Regions from separate parts of the Homo sapiens genome. Here all the other regions are linked to region 1. Evidence: promoter capture Hi-C in human tissues and cell types (Jung and others, 2019). All regions are on one chromosome and are shown on one strand. Each heading gives the region's core, a stretch centred on a gene start or on the middle of the fragment in contact. The rest is flanking DNA. Distances are from core to core; before and after follow the strand shown.

The links. Contacts are between HindIII fragments. The study calls those that stand out against the background at their distance.
Region 2: a fragment that was not itself captured here is called in contact with the fragment with the promoter of GMIP in region 1 in 2 of the 25 tissues and cell types used here (dorsolateral prefrontal cortex and liver).
Region 3: a contact is called between a fragment that was not itself captured here and the fragment with the promoter of GMIP in region 1, in 1 of the 25 tissues and cell types used here (liver).

Annotation. Positions count from the first base shown.
Region 1 is chr19:19,641,573-19,646,582 of GRCh38, forward strand. It overlaps GMIP (GEM interacting protein), which reads right to left and starts at 2,085. Exons shown (of 21, transcript NM_016573.4): 1 at 1,939-2,085; 2 at 963-1,047; 3 at 404-479; 4 at 238-295. The coding sequence starts at 1,957. ATP13A1 (ATPase 13A1) reads right to left here. Exons shown (of 26, transcript NM_020410.3): 23 at 4,633-4,775; 24 at 4,302-4,413; 25 at 4,075-4,218; 26 at 3,626-3,960. The coding sequence ends at 3,850. RefSeq lists enhancers at 962-1,917, 1,139-1,298 and a silencer at 1,929-2,178. The HindIII fragment of the contact is 23,421 bases long and covers 1-5,010 here.
Region 2 is chr19:19,873,590-19,878,599 of GRCh38, forward strand. ZNF253 (zinc finger protein 253) reads left to right here. Exons shown (of 4, transcript NM_021047.3): 2 at 4,892-5,010. Among named protein-coding and RNA genes, the nearest start is that of ZNF253, 10 kb to the left of the region's middle. The HindIII fragment of the contact is 9,890 bases long and covers 1-5,010 here.
Region 3 is chr19:19,853,256-19,858,265 of GRCh38, forward strand. It overlaps the pseudogene BNIP3P9. Among named protein-coding and RNA genes, the nearest start is that of ZNF253, 10 kb to the right of the region's middle. The HindIII fragment of the contact is 3,965 bases long and covers 1-3,920 here.

The sequences.
Region 1 (5,010 bases), core at 835-3,334:
GGATGGTGTCTTACTGTTGCCCAGCATGGTCACGAATTCCTGGCTTCAAGTGATCCTCCTACCTCAGCCTCCACCCTGCCTGGGGTCTCCCTGAGGGCTGGGACTGAGATCTGTTGTGTGTACTGCCATATTCCCAAAACCTAAACGATGCCTTGCATGGAACAGGGGATCAGTGGTGATTTGTTGAAGGAAAGACTCCTGTCTGTCCCCACTGTCCTGGCCTCCAGACCCCCCTACCTGTGAGGGGTACAGGACCCTCTGGGGAGGGGCCGCTCCAACAGCTGGCTTCGTTGGTCTGTGCGGGAGGGAGACAGTATTCAGAAGCAAACAGGGCAGGGGCCTGGCCTTCCTAAGGCCCCCTCTGCTTGAGGTCTTCCTCCCTGTTCCCCTACTCCCCACTCACAACAGTGGCTGTAGGGGTCTTGTCAGGTTCTGGGTCTTCTGAGAGTAGAGGGTCTCCAGCCAGCATCTCAAGGGTCCTGGGGGATAAAGGTGTGTCAGGATGCCACCTTACACCCAGTCTGTCCTGCCAAGGGGTGCTGGGGACCTTAGGGTTGTTTGTGGCAAACATCACCTCTGTGGCATCTCTTGTGTCTGGGAGGTCTGAAGAATGGTGTTTTGGGGGAATCAGGTGAGTTTTTTTTAAATAGGACTTGAAAAAGCATCTGAAGGGCCCCAGATAACTTTGAGGTTCATAGAGTGGGATTATAGGGATCGCAAATATTTTAAGGGGTTACAAGGATATGTAGGGGTTCTAGGACCACTTTGGGGATTTCCAGTCTATTTAGGGGGACACTTTTAGGATACCGAGGCATTTTGGAGGGTCCCATCCTAGACTTCTCTGGTTATTAGGTATGTAGGTCCAGATGTTACAGGTTCCAAATGGGACTGCAAGGCACCTAAATGGTTAGGGGCTTGGGGCATCTTGGCAGGATTTGGGGGTGATCCAGGCTCAGACTCACACGTTCCCCAGTGAGATTTCGAGGTTGTCCAGGCTCCGGAAGATGTCACTGTACCTCTTCCTGCCCTCAGGACCTGGGGGGAGTCCTAGGGGAGGGGAGTGTAATACATGGGCTAACCACTGCCTCCCTCCACCCACGGCACCTCAACCAGTCTCATTTGGAGGGGGTGGAAGAGAAAGGGAAGAGTGAGAGAGAGAAAGAGAGGGCTGGGGGGGGCTTGGTTGGGGCCAACTCGAGGCAGGCAGATGGACTCACACACCACCAGAGACCAGAGACAGCTGCTCGGGGAACAGAGACACCCACTCCCTGGGTCTGCCTGCACCCAGAAGCAAACCAACAAAACAGATGCCCCAGATGCAACCAGGCTGTCCCGAGAAGAAAGCCGGTCTGACAATGGAACCACGGGCTAGACAGATGGAAATACACAAGGGACAGCCAGGCAGAGCCTGGGGCAGAAACACACATGGAGAGACTGAAGCCGTGAGGGACATAAAGACCGAATGACACTCCACATACACAACACAGACACAAAGACGGCCGGAAACACCAAGTCGGACCCCGCCACATTTCTACTGCTGCCCCCCTGCCCCCTCTCCTAAGGGGCCTAGACCAGCACTGCCGACTCCCCAGGGCTACAGAGGGGCCCTGTGGGGATCCTACCGCGTTGCCCTCTCCCTCAGCAGTCGTGGCACCCTGCCCCCATCACAAAAATCAGAAGCAGAAGCAGTCACTTCCCCTTCCTGGGCCCCCTCCCCCAGGCGTCTGGGGTGAGGGATCAAAAGGGGGAGGGGGAGTGAAGGGCTGGGGTCCTGAACCCATCCGGGCACAGGGCTCCCCACAATGGAGGATCCCTGGGTCCTTCCCATTCAGGAACTCCTCTCCTGGCTCTCAGGACGGAGCGGGACAAGTGTGTGCCCTCAATGTAGGAAGCAGGGGATGGTCGGGGGAGGCCCCTCCCGGATCCCCGACCCCCTACCCGGCTCTGCTGCGTCCATATCTGGGCCCGGGGATCGCTCTGCAGGGACCGGGATGGGGATGGGGTCGCGCGCCGGCGGGGCCGAGCCCCGATTTCCTGCCGCCGCAGCCGCCGCCGCCGCCTCGGTTCCGCGTCGCCCTGCCCAGCGGAGGCCACGCCCCCGCATCAGACCACGCCCCCGTAGCCCGGAAGCCTTGATAGTGCCCTTCTCTACCTGAGCCGCTTGAAACTGGGTCGGGCCAGGGCCCCCTGAGCGACCACTCGAGGCTGCAGTGCCCCTGACCTGGGCATCCTAAGACTTCATCTGGGCCATAGGTTCCCTCTCAGATCTTTGTGCTACCCCAAATCCCACGGAGCCCCAGCCCCCTCCTCCCTGAATGGTTGCAGAGTCCACCTGTCCCGGGGGGCCTCTCCCAGGAGCTCCCACAACCCGCGACCCTGGTGATCCCCTTGCCCAGGTTGTCTCTCGGAGCCCTGAAACCACCTGGGCCTCGCTGGAGCCATGGCGCCCCCTGGTGGAGGCCTGATATTCTGTCCGATTCCAACCAAAATTCTAATACTCGGGCTGGAGAACCCCTGGCCTGGGGGACGCCCCTTCCGTGACCCTCAAAGCTGGATCAGGCTCAAGGCCCCAATTACAGCACACCAGGGAGCAGCCCTTTTAGGTAGGGAGTGGAGGTTTGTCCAAAAGCACCAGCTCTGGGGTTGCCACAAGCCGCCTGTTATAAAAATGCTCCCACCCCCAGCACAGTGGAATTTTGGGGCTGGAAATAGACTTTAAAGTATGTTTATAACTTTGTGTCCAAAGGCTTTGGCTGTTAAGGAGGCAAGGATTCTCTGACTGGCTCCGTGCTGCCTACTCTGCAGTTCTTGAGTTGTGATGAGTGAGTCCATTGAAAGGAATAACACTATCAACCTAAGAGCCAAGCCAGGTTTCCAGGTCACATCCTGGCTGATGCTCAGCCAGAGCTCCCTGACTGTGACATGAGATGGTAGAGCAGCGCAGGCCCCCAAAGAGCATGACAGAGTCAGTACTTGTTTGTTTTTCTTTTGAGTTGGAGTCTCGCTCTGTTGCCCAGGCTGGAGTGCAGTGGCGTTATCTCGGCTCACTGCAAGCTCCACCTCCTGGGTTCACGCCATTCTCCTGCCTCAGCCTCCCGAGTAACTGGGACTACAGGCACTCGCCACCATGCCTGGCTAATTTTTTGTATTTTTAGTAGAGATGGGGTTTCACTGTGTTAGCCAGGATGGTCTCGATCTCCTGACCTTGTGATGGGCCCGCCTTGGCCTCCCAAAGTGCTGGGATTACAGGCTTGAGCCACCGGACAGAGTCAATACTTGTAATGATGCAGATCATATTCCTCAAGTCTCAGACACCACCCGAGAGAAAGGCATGCTGTTATGTATTATGGGAAAGAAAAAAATATCACACATCCTAAGGCTTCTCTCAGCACCTGAGTTGTTAAAATGTGAAAGAGACCTCAGAAATATGGGGGTGCTTGTTAAACTAGAAAATATGCACTGAATTCTCTGGGCAGGGACAAGTCCATGTTCAAGTGCTGAAAGTGCCAGAGGGTTTCACCAACATCACACGCCTGTGGGGAGGGTGCTGGGACCTTCCTCAGTGACCCTCTGTCCCCGAGCCCCCAGCAAACACCGTGTGGCACAGACGAGGTGGAGGCAGGGCTTTTTAAAATCTCAGATGCTGCTTTATTTACCAAAGGTGCTGGCTTGGGGCTGGTTCTGCTGGCCAAGCCAGCGGATGGCTGTGGGGGTCCCAGCTCAGTCTTCCAAGGGCGAGACTGTACAGCCTTGCTGTGGGGGGTTGGGGGCAGGGTTCCCTCCCGGGGCCCTGTTGGGGTTCCCGCCCAGCGGCAGCCAGGGTGGGCAGTGGGTACCAGCACTGCCATCTCAGGAAGGCACTTTCAGCTTCGGGGTCCCCAGGAAGAACTGCAGGACGCGGTCGGCCAGGAGCGCCAGGCAGAAGTCCAGGAGCAGGACCTGGGCAATGACCAGCTTGAACTGTCGGGGCAGGGAGGGATGGTGAGCTGGAGACCTGCAGCCCAGCTCAGGGTCACTGCCATAGGAGGGACCCATCAAGCTGAGCCCCAGGGTCACCTCCACAGGGCCACTGACCTCCACAGGGATGTCCACGAGGCCAAACTGGCTGTTGAAGTCGGGCGAGGAGCCGAGGAGCAGGCCAATGATGGCCAGGAGTGAAACTGCCAGACTCCACACCAGGGGCTTGTTCTCGGGCAGGCTCTCCATGAAGGGCGGGCCCTGTGGGGATGAGGGACAGATGGCTTCATGGGGTGGGGCTGGGTGGGCAGACAGTGAATGTTTGGGCAGGGCCCAGGCCTTACTTTGTAATTGATGGCGAAGGTGGCCATCTGCATGGCCATGGCCATGATGTAGACGGTGCTGTTGACCAGGCTTGGCTCAAACTCCTTGTACAAGTCCACGAACTGCTCCTGCCTGCAAGGACACATGGGAGTCAGGGCCCCCTCTCCTGCTCCGGCTCACACACACTGTGTGGCTTCCTGCTGCCCTGGCACAGAGCTAGGGCTCTGCCTGGCCTAGTGCCCCTCCCTGGACACCCTGGACAACCCCCAGCCTCTCCTGCTGAAGTCTGTGGAGTCATCCTCCTGCTATTCTCAGCTGCAGGGACATCACCTCCTCCAAGGCAGCACTTACTTCTCGGGGCTCCGGGCCTGGGCCTCACGGTACAGGTAGACAAGGCTCAGGAAGTGCACAAAGAACTGGAGCATGACGGTGAGGATGGTGTACAGGTTGAAGATGTTGGGCAGGGGCCGTTCTCGGGAGAGGGTCTTGAGGGGCTGCAGCAGCAAGGCGGGTGGGGGAGTCAGGATCTGGCTCACTTGGGGCCACCCTGCCCACACAGCAGGCAGTAACATCCCCTGCCTCCCGGGAGACCTTGTGTACAGCCACCACCAAATCCTGGGGGATTCCATGGGTCAGCACCAGTCCCTGGATCCCTGCCTGCCTCTCACCCCTGAGCCCAGGGCTGCCTCCCTGGCCCCGGCTCCGCCATCCAGGCTCCCCATGGCAGCC
Region 2 (5,010 bases), core at 1,045-3,544, 230 kb after region 1:
GTTGGTACCAAGATGAGAGTTTCTCCAGTTTCTGGTGCTTGAATGAAACAAGGATGAGATCTGGAGACCCAAATAGATAAAGTATTTCCTTACATCTCATATAACCATTAAAAAAAATGAAGCAGTCATGGTTCCTACAATCCAGAAACTTTTAGTCTAGATTAGCTACTGGATAAATAATTGAATTATGTGTCATATGGTTGGTGCAATAAATAGATGTGTCCAAAATCTTGGGCTTTATTTAGACCACTTTCTTTATATTGTTGTGACTTGTGATGTCTACACCTGTAGGGATATTCATGAACAGAAGAATTGTTATTATAATTAATTTTTGGTTTTTTGAGATAGAGTCTCTGTCGCCCAGGATGGAGTGCAATGGCGGGATCTCAGCTAACTGAAACCTCGGCCTCCCGGGTTCAAGTGATACTCCTGTCTCAGCCTCCAGAGTGTCCGGGATTACAGGTGCCCACCACCATGCCCAGCTAATTTTTTGTATTTTTAGTAGAGATAGGGTTTCACCATGATGGTCAGGCTGGTCTTTAACTCCTGACCTCAGGTGGTCTGCCCGCCTCGGCCTCCCAAAGTGCTGGGATTACAGGCAGGAGCCACCGCGCCCAGCCACATATTTATTTTCTAATAAAATTAGCCTAGGAAGGCCTGGTGCAGTGCCTCACACCTGTAATTTTAGCACTTTGGGAGGCCGAAGCGGGCAGATCACAAGGTCAGGCGTTCCAAACCAGACTGGCCATTATGGTGAAACGCTGTCTTTACTAAAAATACAAAAATTAGCTAGGCATGGCGGCACACGCTTGTAGTTTCAGCTACTCGGGAGGATGAGTCAAAAGAACAGCTTGAACCTAGGAGGCGGAGGTTGCAGTGAGCCAAGATCATGCCAGTGCGCTCCAGCCTGGGCGACAGAGCTCCAAAAAGAAAATAAAAATTACCCTAGAAAACCTTTGGGGATTTGTTTAAATTGCATAGTAGTGTATAGTATAAAGTTGACAGGGCGGTGGCTAGAAAATATAAAAATTACAGAAACAGGCCGGGCGCAGTGGCTCACGCCTGTAATCCCAGCACTTTGGGAGGCCGAGGCAGGTGGATCACGAGGTCAGGAGATCGAGACCATCCTGGCTAACACGGTGAAACCCCGTCTCTACTAAAAATACAAAAAAATTAGCCGGGCGTGGTGGTGGGCGCCTGTAGTCCCAGCTACTTGGGAGGCTGAGGCAGGAGAATGGCGTGAACCCGGGAGGCGGAGTTTGCAGTTAGCCGAGATCGCGCCACTGCACTCCAGCCTGGGCGACAGAGAGACTCCATCTCAAACAAACAAACAAACAAATTACAGAAACTCTGAGATTTAAGTTTCTTTTAGATAAGCTTAGAAAAAACAAAACTGGAAGTACCCTAGTGGCATAGAGAACAGAATTCTACATAGGGTTCTCACCCTATCCTAGGTCTGTTAAGATTCACCCTTTTTGGAGGCCTTATTTAGGTCTGCCTCTATCCTGGAGTCTTGCCTCACAGAACTGATCAGAAGAGATCAGAGTTTTGGCTGGTGAATCCTGCTGCCTTTCTAGAGCTGGTGCTTAGAATTTACTGAAACTCAAAAGCAGATAAATCAGAAAAACAAAGTATGTATTAGAGGGTGTTAGTTTTTAAGTTTTCTATGAATCCAGTGCTAACAGAGACATTCTATTTAGCAACTTGGTTTCTATTCCTGCAGATCCAGTAGTTGCTCCTCAAGTCACAAAAAAAGAAGTAAATATAAACAGAATAAAATTTTCTCTAAACTACATTAAACTCTTTCTTTCTTTCTTTCTTTTTTGAGATGGAGTGTCTCTCTGTCGCCCAGGCTGGAGTGCAGTGGTGGATCTCGGCTCACTGCAAGCTCTGCCTCCTGGGTTCACGCCATTCTCCTGCCTCAGCCTCCCAAGTAGCTGGAACTACGGGCACCCACCACCACGCCCGGCTAATTTTTTGTATTTTTAGTAGAGACGGGGTTTCACCGTGTTAGCCAGGATGGTCTCGATCTCCTGACCTCGTGATCCGCCCGCCTCGGCCTCCCAAAGTGCTGGAATTACAGGCGTGAGCCACCGCGCCCAGCCATTAAACTCTTTCTTTCTTTATCTTGAAATCTGTCTACATTTAGCTTTTATTCTATGTAATTTTTTTAAAAAGTTGATGATGGAGAAACAGAGGAAGAAATAAAAATGCTGGGCCCTTTATCTAAATCCTGGAAATTATTAAACCCTTAGTACCAGCTTCCAGGGTATTATGAGAACTAAATCACATAATGTGTTATGCCCAGCACAGTGCTCTGTATCATATTCTTGAGCACATTGTACCTCATTAATAAACATTGCATTAGTACATGTGTACATGTTGTTTTTTAAATATAGACTTATTCAGACATTGCTGCTTTCTGTTTCTTCTGTAAACTTTAAAGAGCCAGCAAAGAATATAAAACTTTAGGATGGAGTTGGGTTGTCTTTATTTGTACCAGAAGTATTTGGTTGTGACAAGAGTGCTGAGTGTAAGCGACCCTGTGCTGTGCCTGCTTCTCTAACTAATGCTAACAATGAGCCCAGGGGGAGCAACATCAGCATTGACAGAGAACTTGTTTAAAACACCCATTTATGGACCCTTTTCAAACCTGCAGAATCATATTACATAAAGTGGAGTCAAAATTATCAAGTGATTTATAAGCTCATTAAAACTTTACAGGCAGTGCTCTCATTCATGAGAGTTAAGTTCCACCTTTGCACTAAAGGGTGGTCACAGGGCCTGTTCTGTTTGGGTTTGGTAGGGATAGGTCAGTGTGGCACATATTTCCATTACTGTAGCAAAAATTGCTGGTGTCTGTGGCAGGGGAGGGCACCTGAGGACAGGAAAGGAGAAACTTATATTTTTATCTTCATGAAGCAGCTCATTGTTCCTGAATCTCTTCTGTTTTAAAGGACAGAAAAGGGTGGACTTTTTCTGTGTTTTTTTTCTTTCTGCCATTTGATGTCATGCTAGCAGGTAAACAGGTGGTGCTGACACTTTTAAGGGCATATTATCAAGATACGGGTGTAATTTGTACAGAGAATCTCGTCTGAGAAGGAATTCCAGAGAAGCAAGAGAGGGAAAAGTGGCTTTTCTGTTTCAGATCAAGAGCTGTATTCACTCTGCCTCCTCGAATGCTATGCATTTAGTACTCACAAACTTTTACTTCTCTACTTTTGCTTTTTTTTTAATGAGTTTGGTTTAAGTACTTCTTAAAATTCTTATGATAGTCAAGAGTCTCTGTAAAATATTTATTTTCTATACCTTAGAGCCTTCTCTACATTTGCTGCATCATAGCTTCTTATATGCCATGCAGGATTCTCAGCAAGACTTTATAATCTGCAATATTAAAAATGTTCCCTTCGTGGCTGTTGAACATGGAAAGACGTGGATACTCAAGATTTCTATTGGGGAAAACTGTGGTCCTTAGTAAAGATGGAGAACATGTAATGTTGAGGCTCCATCTGTGTGTTCCATTAGCTCTATGCAGAATAGGATTAGGGAAATGCTTATTTAAAAGGGATGGCAGTTATTACCCAGAAAGTTCTGAAAGAAAATTAAGGTACCTGCTCTCTAGGGAGCTAAATGAAGCCTACTTAAAATTCCTACTAAAAGTTACAGAACATAGGAGTTATCTATATTTTGAAGTTAGCATAAAACATGTTTCTTTATGGTTAAATTCAGATTTTATTTACTTTCTTTGGGAGGAATATTTCAACAGTGATGCTGTGTTCTTCTTCTTCTTCTTTTTTTTTTTTTAAGAAGAGTTTCACTCTCATTGCCCAGGCTGGAGTGCAATGGTGCAATCTTGGCTCACTGCAACATCTGCCTCCCAGGTTCAAGCAATTCTCTTGCCTCAGCCTCCTGAGTAGCTGGGATTACAGGCATGTGCCACAACGCCCAGCTAATTTTGTATTATCAATAGAGACGGGGTTTCTCCATGTTGGTCAGGCTGGTCTCGAACTCCCGACCTCAGGTGACCCACCCATCTCGGCCTCCCAAAGTGCTGAAATTACAGGCGTGAGCCACCATGCCTGGCCGATGCTGTGTTCTTCTGTGTGAATTAGCACATCATAAAAATTTGTCCTAGTGCAGTTAAGGGTTAATGATTCACTTGGTGACATAGCTCTCTGACAGATTTTTTTTTACAATAGAGTTAATTATTTCTCTCTTCATTAAGTATTTTTATGCAGCTGATGTGCATAAACCATCACACTTAATCTGGCGTCTATCCTTTCTTCTCTTTTTTGCTACATATTTTTCTTTGGAAAATGAAGGCTCTTATCTTTGTTTACAGGCCAGAAAAACTGGGAAAAACACAGGCTCTTCCATTTACTCAATGTTTGACAAAATACCGTTCTTGGGCCAAAAACATTCGCATTAGAGATGAGCTTGTCAGAAATTCAAAAAGTCAGACTTTATGCCAGATCTTCCGGAATAAAAAAAAACCCTGCACAACAAGGTCTTCAGCTTATTGTGTATATTAAAATTTGAGAGGTGCCTTCTAACTCAACACATCTTTTGCATCTGAAAAATATTCACAACTCATTCCATATGATGCAAATATAGCACTAAAAAATGTTCATGTTCATGCCCTTAATTTTATGCTCTATTATCTAAAAAATATCATATATAAACTGATGTTATGGATCTTGTGCCGCTCTTTTTTCTCAGAGTTAGAGGATACATTAGAGAATATTTTTGGGTTGAAAAATATTTTATTGGATAATTTTAGGCAGTCCTTTGAGTCAGAACCAGTTCTCTTTACTCTCTAATTTCACCTTAAGTCAAATTAAAAATTCCTCTCATGCCATTTAGTAATTATGTGTGTGTGTGTGTTTTCCAGGGACCATTGCAATTTAGAGATGTGGCCATAGAATTCTCTCTGGAGGAGTGGCATTGCCTGGACACTGCACAGCGGAATTTATATAGGGATGTGATGTTAGAGAACTACAGAAACTTGGT
Region 3 (5,010 bases), core at 688-3,187, 210 kb after region 1:
AGAAAACAAGTTGCTAAATGACTCTGCACGCACTGGTTTTAATAGAGAATTTATAAAATATGACCCTAAAATACACACTTTGTTTTTCCTGTTTATGTTTTTGTGTTCCAGGAAATTGTGAACACCACTTCTAGAAAGGCAGCAGGATTCACCAGCCAAAACTCTGATCTCTTCTAATCAGTTCTGTGAGGCCAGACTCCAAGGTAGAGTCAGACCTAAATAAGGCCTCCAAAAAGGATAAATCTGAACAGGTCTGGGGCAGGGCAAGGCCCCTATGTAGAATTCTGTTCTCTATACCATTAGGGTACTTCCAGTTTTGTTTTTTCTAAGCTAACCTAAAAGAAACTTAAATCCCAGAGTTTCTCTAATTTTAATATTTTCTAGCCACTGTCCTGTCAACTTTATACTATATACTAATATGCAATTTAAACAAATCCCTTATGGTTTCCTAGGGTAATTTTATTAAAAAATAAATACGTACACTTAACAAAGTAAAATAAATAGAAATTATATGGCCGGCACTGTGGCTCATACCTGTAATCCCAGCACTTTGGGTGGCCAAGGTTGGTGGAACACGAGGTCAGGAGTTCAAGACCAGCCTGACCAAGATGGTGAACCCTTGTCTCTACTAAAAATATAAAAATTAGTTGGGCGTGGTGGCAGGCATCTGTAATCCCAGCTACTCAGGAGGCTGAGACAGGAGTATCACTTGAATCTGAATGGCAGAGCTTGCGGTGAGTCGAGATTGTGCCACTGCACTCCAGAATGGGTGACAGAGTGAGACTTTATCTCAAAAATTAAAAAGTAATTAGAATAACAATTCCTCTGTTCATAAATATCCCTTATGTGTAGATGTCAGAAATCACAACAATATAAAGGAAGTGGCCCAAATAAAGCTTAAGATTTTGGACACATCTATTTATTGTACCAACCATATGATGCATAATCCAATTATTTATCTGGTTGCTAGTCTAGACTAAAAGCTTCTGGGTTGTAGGAACCATGACTACTTCATGGTTTTTTTTTTAATGGCCATATGAGATGGAAGCAACTAGTTTATCTATTCGGGTCTCCAGATCTCCTCCTTGTTTATCATCCAAGTACCAGGAAACTGGATAAACTCTCATCTGGGTACCAACCAAAGACACCTCTTGTATGAGGGGAGGAACAAACACAGATGACTCATTTCTCTTACACTGAGACAGAAGCAGAATTAACCATTTTTGTCAACCTGACACAATTCTGTTCTGGACATCCTCAAATGCCTCAAAGACACCTAGGTTATTGTGAGATTATTAGATATCATTGGGCTGATGGCCCAATGATAAGCCAGGCTGCAGACTCGGGCTGTTTCTAAATAGAAAATGGAACTGCACTGGTGGAGCTCCAGAACTTGGATCACCCGTTCTGATTTGCTAGCTCTTGGGTAAAAGAAAGAACAAAAATACTCTACTCCAGTATCACATTTTACAGGTAAATATAGTTGTGGTCATGGCTCTGGATACTTTGTGGCCTTGATCTCTCACTCCAAAGATGCTTATTTACACTTACAGATTCTGCCATCAGATTCTATTTCCTCCTGGAACCTCTCACATCACTGTAGCAGGTCAATGAACAAGATGTGAAACATCTCACAGAGCCACATTCCCAAATGGGGGCTGTAAGCTGTCTTTGCTGACATCTCACAAGGCAGAAAATGCCATTTGTTAGTTCTCTGTACATTCACAATCCAAAGACCAGCCCTTTTTTGTAAATCCCAGGCAGAGGCCAGACCTTATCTGCAGATTCTAGGTAGGATCCACCTGGCTCTGCATCCTTTGGTGTTACAGCAAGTGGAGTACAATCCGAGGAGAGATCCCCTCATAGAGGCTCCTCTAGCACATTCTAAATGATAAGTCTACATGAAATAAAAAAAAAAAGCTGACACAACATCAATATAAGTAGACAGTTTATTTGGGTCAAGCTGAAGGATTATAATCTGGGAGCAAAGATTCAAGTTGTCTGGAATCTACACTTTGATTGGCATCAGTTACAAGAGGATTTGTAAAGATAACAAGAGAAGAACAGAGTAGGTAGACACAAAGTTGTTTGTCAGAAATTTTTATGTATTTAGAGAAATAGCATTTATTATTGATTAGATATATATAGTTATGGTTTAGGATATGGGATATAGTGTCCAACGTGTCATTATTAGTTTAATTTATAGCTACTTTTGGCAATCGTGAACAGTTTCAAGAGATGAATACATAGTTCAAAGGAGGGAGAAATAACTGCACTTTCATTTTCATGTCTCTGAGTTTGATAACCAAAGGACTTGCATTTTTTAGATAAAAGTTTTTTATTTCCCAAATCTCAAGACCTAAATTCAAAATTTGGAGCTGCAGATTTAGGGGCTGAAGGACTGGAGCAGCAGCAGATGTTACCTGAACATTTGTGAGCACTTTAGCAAGAGGAGAAAGGGGAACGTGGAGATTCTCATGTCTCTATGTCTACTAATGCACATGTTACTGTGATTGGGTTTCTGGGCTAAATAGTTTTTGTATCAGTTTCAGGCCTGAAGATACAAGAGTCATTGATAGAGGTAAAATGATTGATTGTTGCCCTGTGAAGTTTGTAGAAATGTGGTCTAGCCTCTCTAGAAGTGACTCTAGAGGACTATAGATACCAAATAGGAAGAGACACAATTCTGCCTCCATATTTAGGGGACAGCATGCATTTTGAAGTGCAAATGTGAGTTGACTGGAAGCCTGAGAGGAAAAGTCCCCTCTAGAGTAAATTCTGGTTGGCACCTTATGTGTTTTTATCATGTCTGGTAATTCTAGACAGTGTTTGGAAATGATTAAAAGAAAAATTTTCTCCAGCCCCAGAGAAACTCCACAAAAGTAGCACAGAAAGAAAATGGTTTTATTACACAATTGAACTTAATTGTGACATGCATCATCATCAGTCTGCTTAAGGGATCGCAAAGACAGAAAGATGGTCACCATAATTAGTTCACAAATAGAAGAATTTCCAGCGCCATGTCATACATAGTTCATCCTATGAACAGATTGAAGAGGCCATCTGTGTATGCTAATTGCTTATATTCAATGACAAACTTTTCACATCTTCATAACAGGAAGTAGTTTAGTAGCTTTAATCCAGGTGCCTTCTGAAGGTAGGCTTTCATTGTGCTACAAAAATGGTTGAATAGGGTTCTATCTTTTTGGCTATTTACATTTTAGAGCAGTGGCTCTGTACTCCCTGGCATTGGGTTACAGCACTCCTGCTTGCTTTCTCCTGGTTACTAGTGGCCTCTTTTTTTTTTTTTTTTTGAGACGGAGTCTTCCTCTGTCGCCCAGGCTGGAGTGCAGTGGCGCAATCTCAGCTCACTCCAAGCTCCGCCTCCTGGGTTCATGCCATTCTCCTGCCTCAGCCTCCCGAGTAGCTGGGACTACAGGTGCCTGCCACCATGCCTGGCCTGGCTAATTTTTTGTATTTTTAGTAGAGACGGGGTTTCACCATATTAGCCAGGATGGTCTCCATCTCCTGACCTCGTGATCCGCCCGTCTTGGCCTCCCAAAGTGCTGGGATTACAGGCGTGAGCCACCGCGCCCAGCCTAGTGTCCTCTCTTGACCTATAACATCTGCCACTGAGGCACAGCCTGGAGCACAGCTCACATTTTATATGAACCCCATTTGCCACAGCAGCACTCTAGTGTCACATCAGAGAGTGAGGCCTGAGCTGCAGGAGGAGAGCCTGCAGGCCTCCTGGGTAGAATTACACCTTCACAATCATGAGAATGTGATTAGTGTTTCAGCCTCAGTTTCTACCTATAGTAGGGACATGGAAAAAATACTGCTGAATTTCCAGCATAAGTCCAGATAGAAATAGCTCTAAAAGTTCTCGCTATGAAAGTCCACCTCATGTAGACACCATCGGATATGAATAGGGCTTTTGAAACAGACACCCAAAGCATTGGAGAGAAAAACAGATCTCCATCTGAGCCAGATTATTTTGAGAGAAAAAAGTTCAAAAGATCTTAAGAAAAAGCTCATATTAGATATAAGATTGATCAGCCAGAAGATATTCCCCTAAAAGCAATTTCTCTGTAAACACTCAAAGTGCACAGCTACTCTCAGCATGAGAAACATGAGCCTTATGAAAAAAAAGTGCAGTTTTTCAGAAGAATTTTATAGCCTTTTTCCCATCTTTGCTGGTCTGTCATCTCCTAGCCATTAAATTGGGGTTCTATATTGAAATACATCTGACAACTTTCAACAACACTTTTTGATGAAGAAATAGAAACTGACTGTGTTCATATAGTGGAACATATTAGAACTGGCAACATCGTTAACTGCAGAGCTATTATGGTTTTTGGGTGGCCACATCACCTGTCTCCTGTAATAACAGCATTCCAATTTAGTAAAATAAAAGATACACAAATTGTGTTTACTCACAATTTTCCCTATTGAATAAAGCAATAAACTTGTCACTAATATCTACTGTAAAAATTTGGTAGTAAATTTTCTTTGGATATTAGATATAAAGATCTAAGTATGAATAATTTTAATGAACCGGTCATAATGTATTCAGTATTTTTAAAAATTGCAACTACATAGCTGGGCATGGTGGCTCATGCCCGTAATCCCAGCACTTTGGGAGTCTGAGGCAGGCGGATCACCGGAGGTCGTGAGTTTGAGACCAGCATGACCGACATGGAGAAACCCTGTCTCTACTAAAAATACAAAATTAGCTAGGCCAGGTGTGGCACATGCCTGCAATCCCAGCTACTCAGGAGGTTGAGGCAGGAGAATCCCTTGAACCTGGGAGGCGGAGGTTGCAGTGAGCCGAGATCGCGCCATTGCACTCCAGCCTGGGCAACAAGAGCGAAACTCTGTTTCAAAAAAAAAAAAATTGCCACTACAGTTAGGTGCAGTGTCTCACACCTGTAGTCCCAGCACTCTGTTAGGCCGAAGCATGTGGATCACCAGGTCAGGAGTTCAACACCAGCCTGGCAAATATGGTGA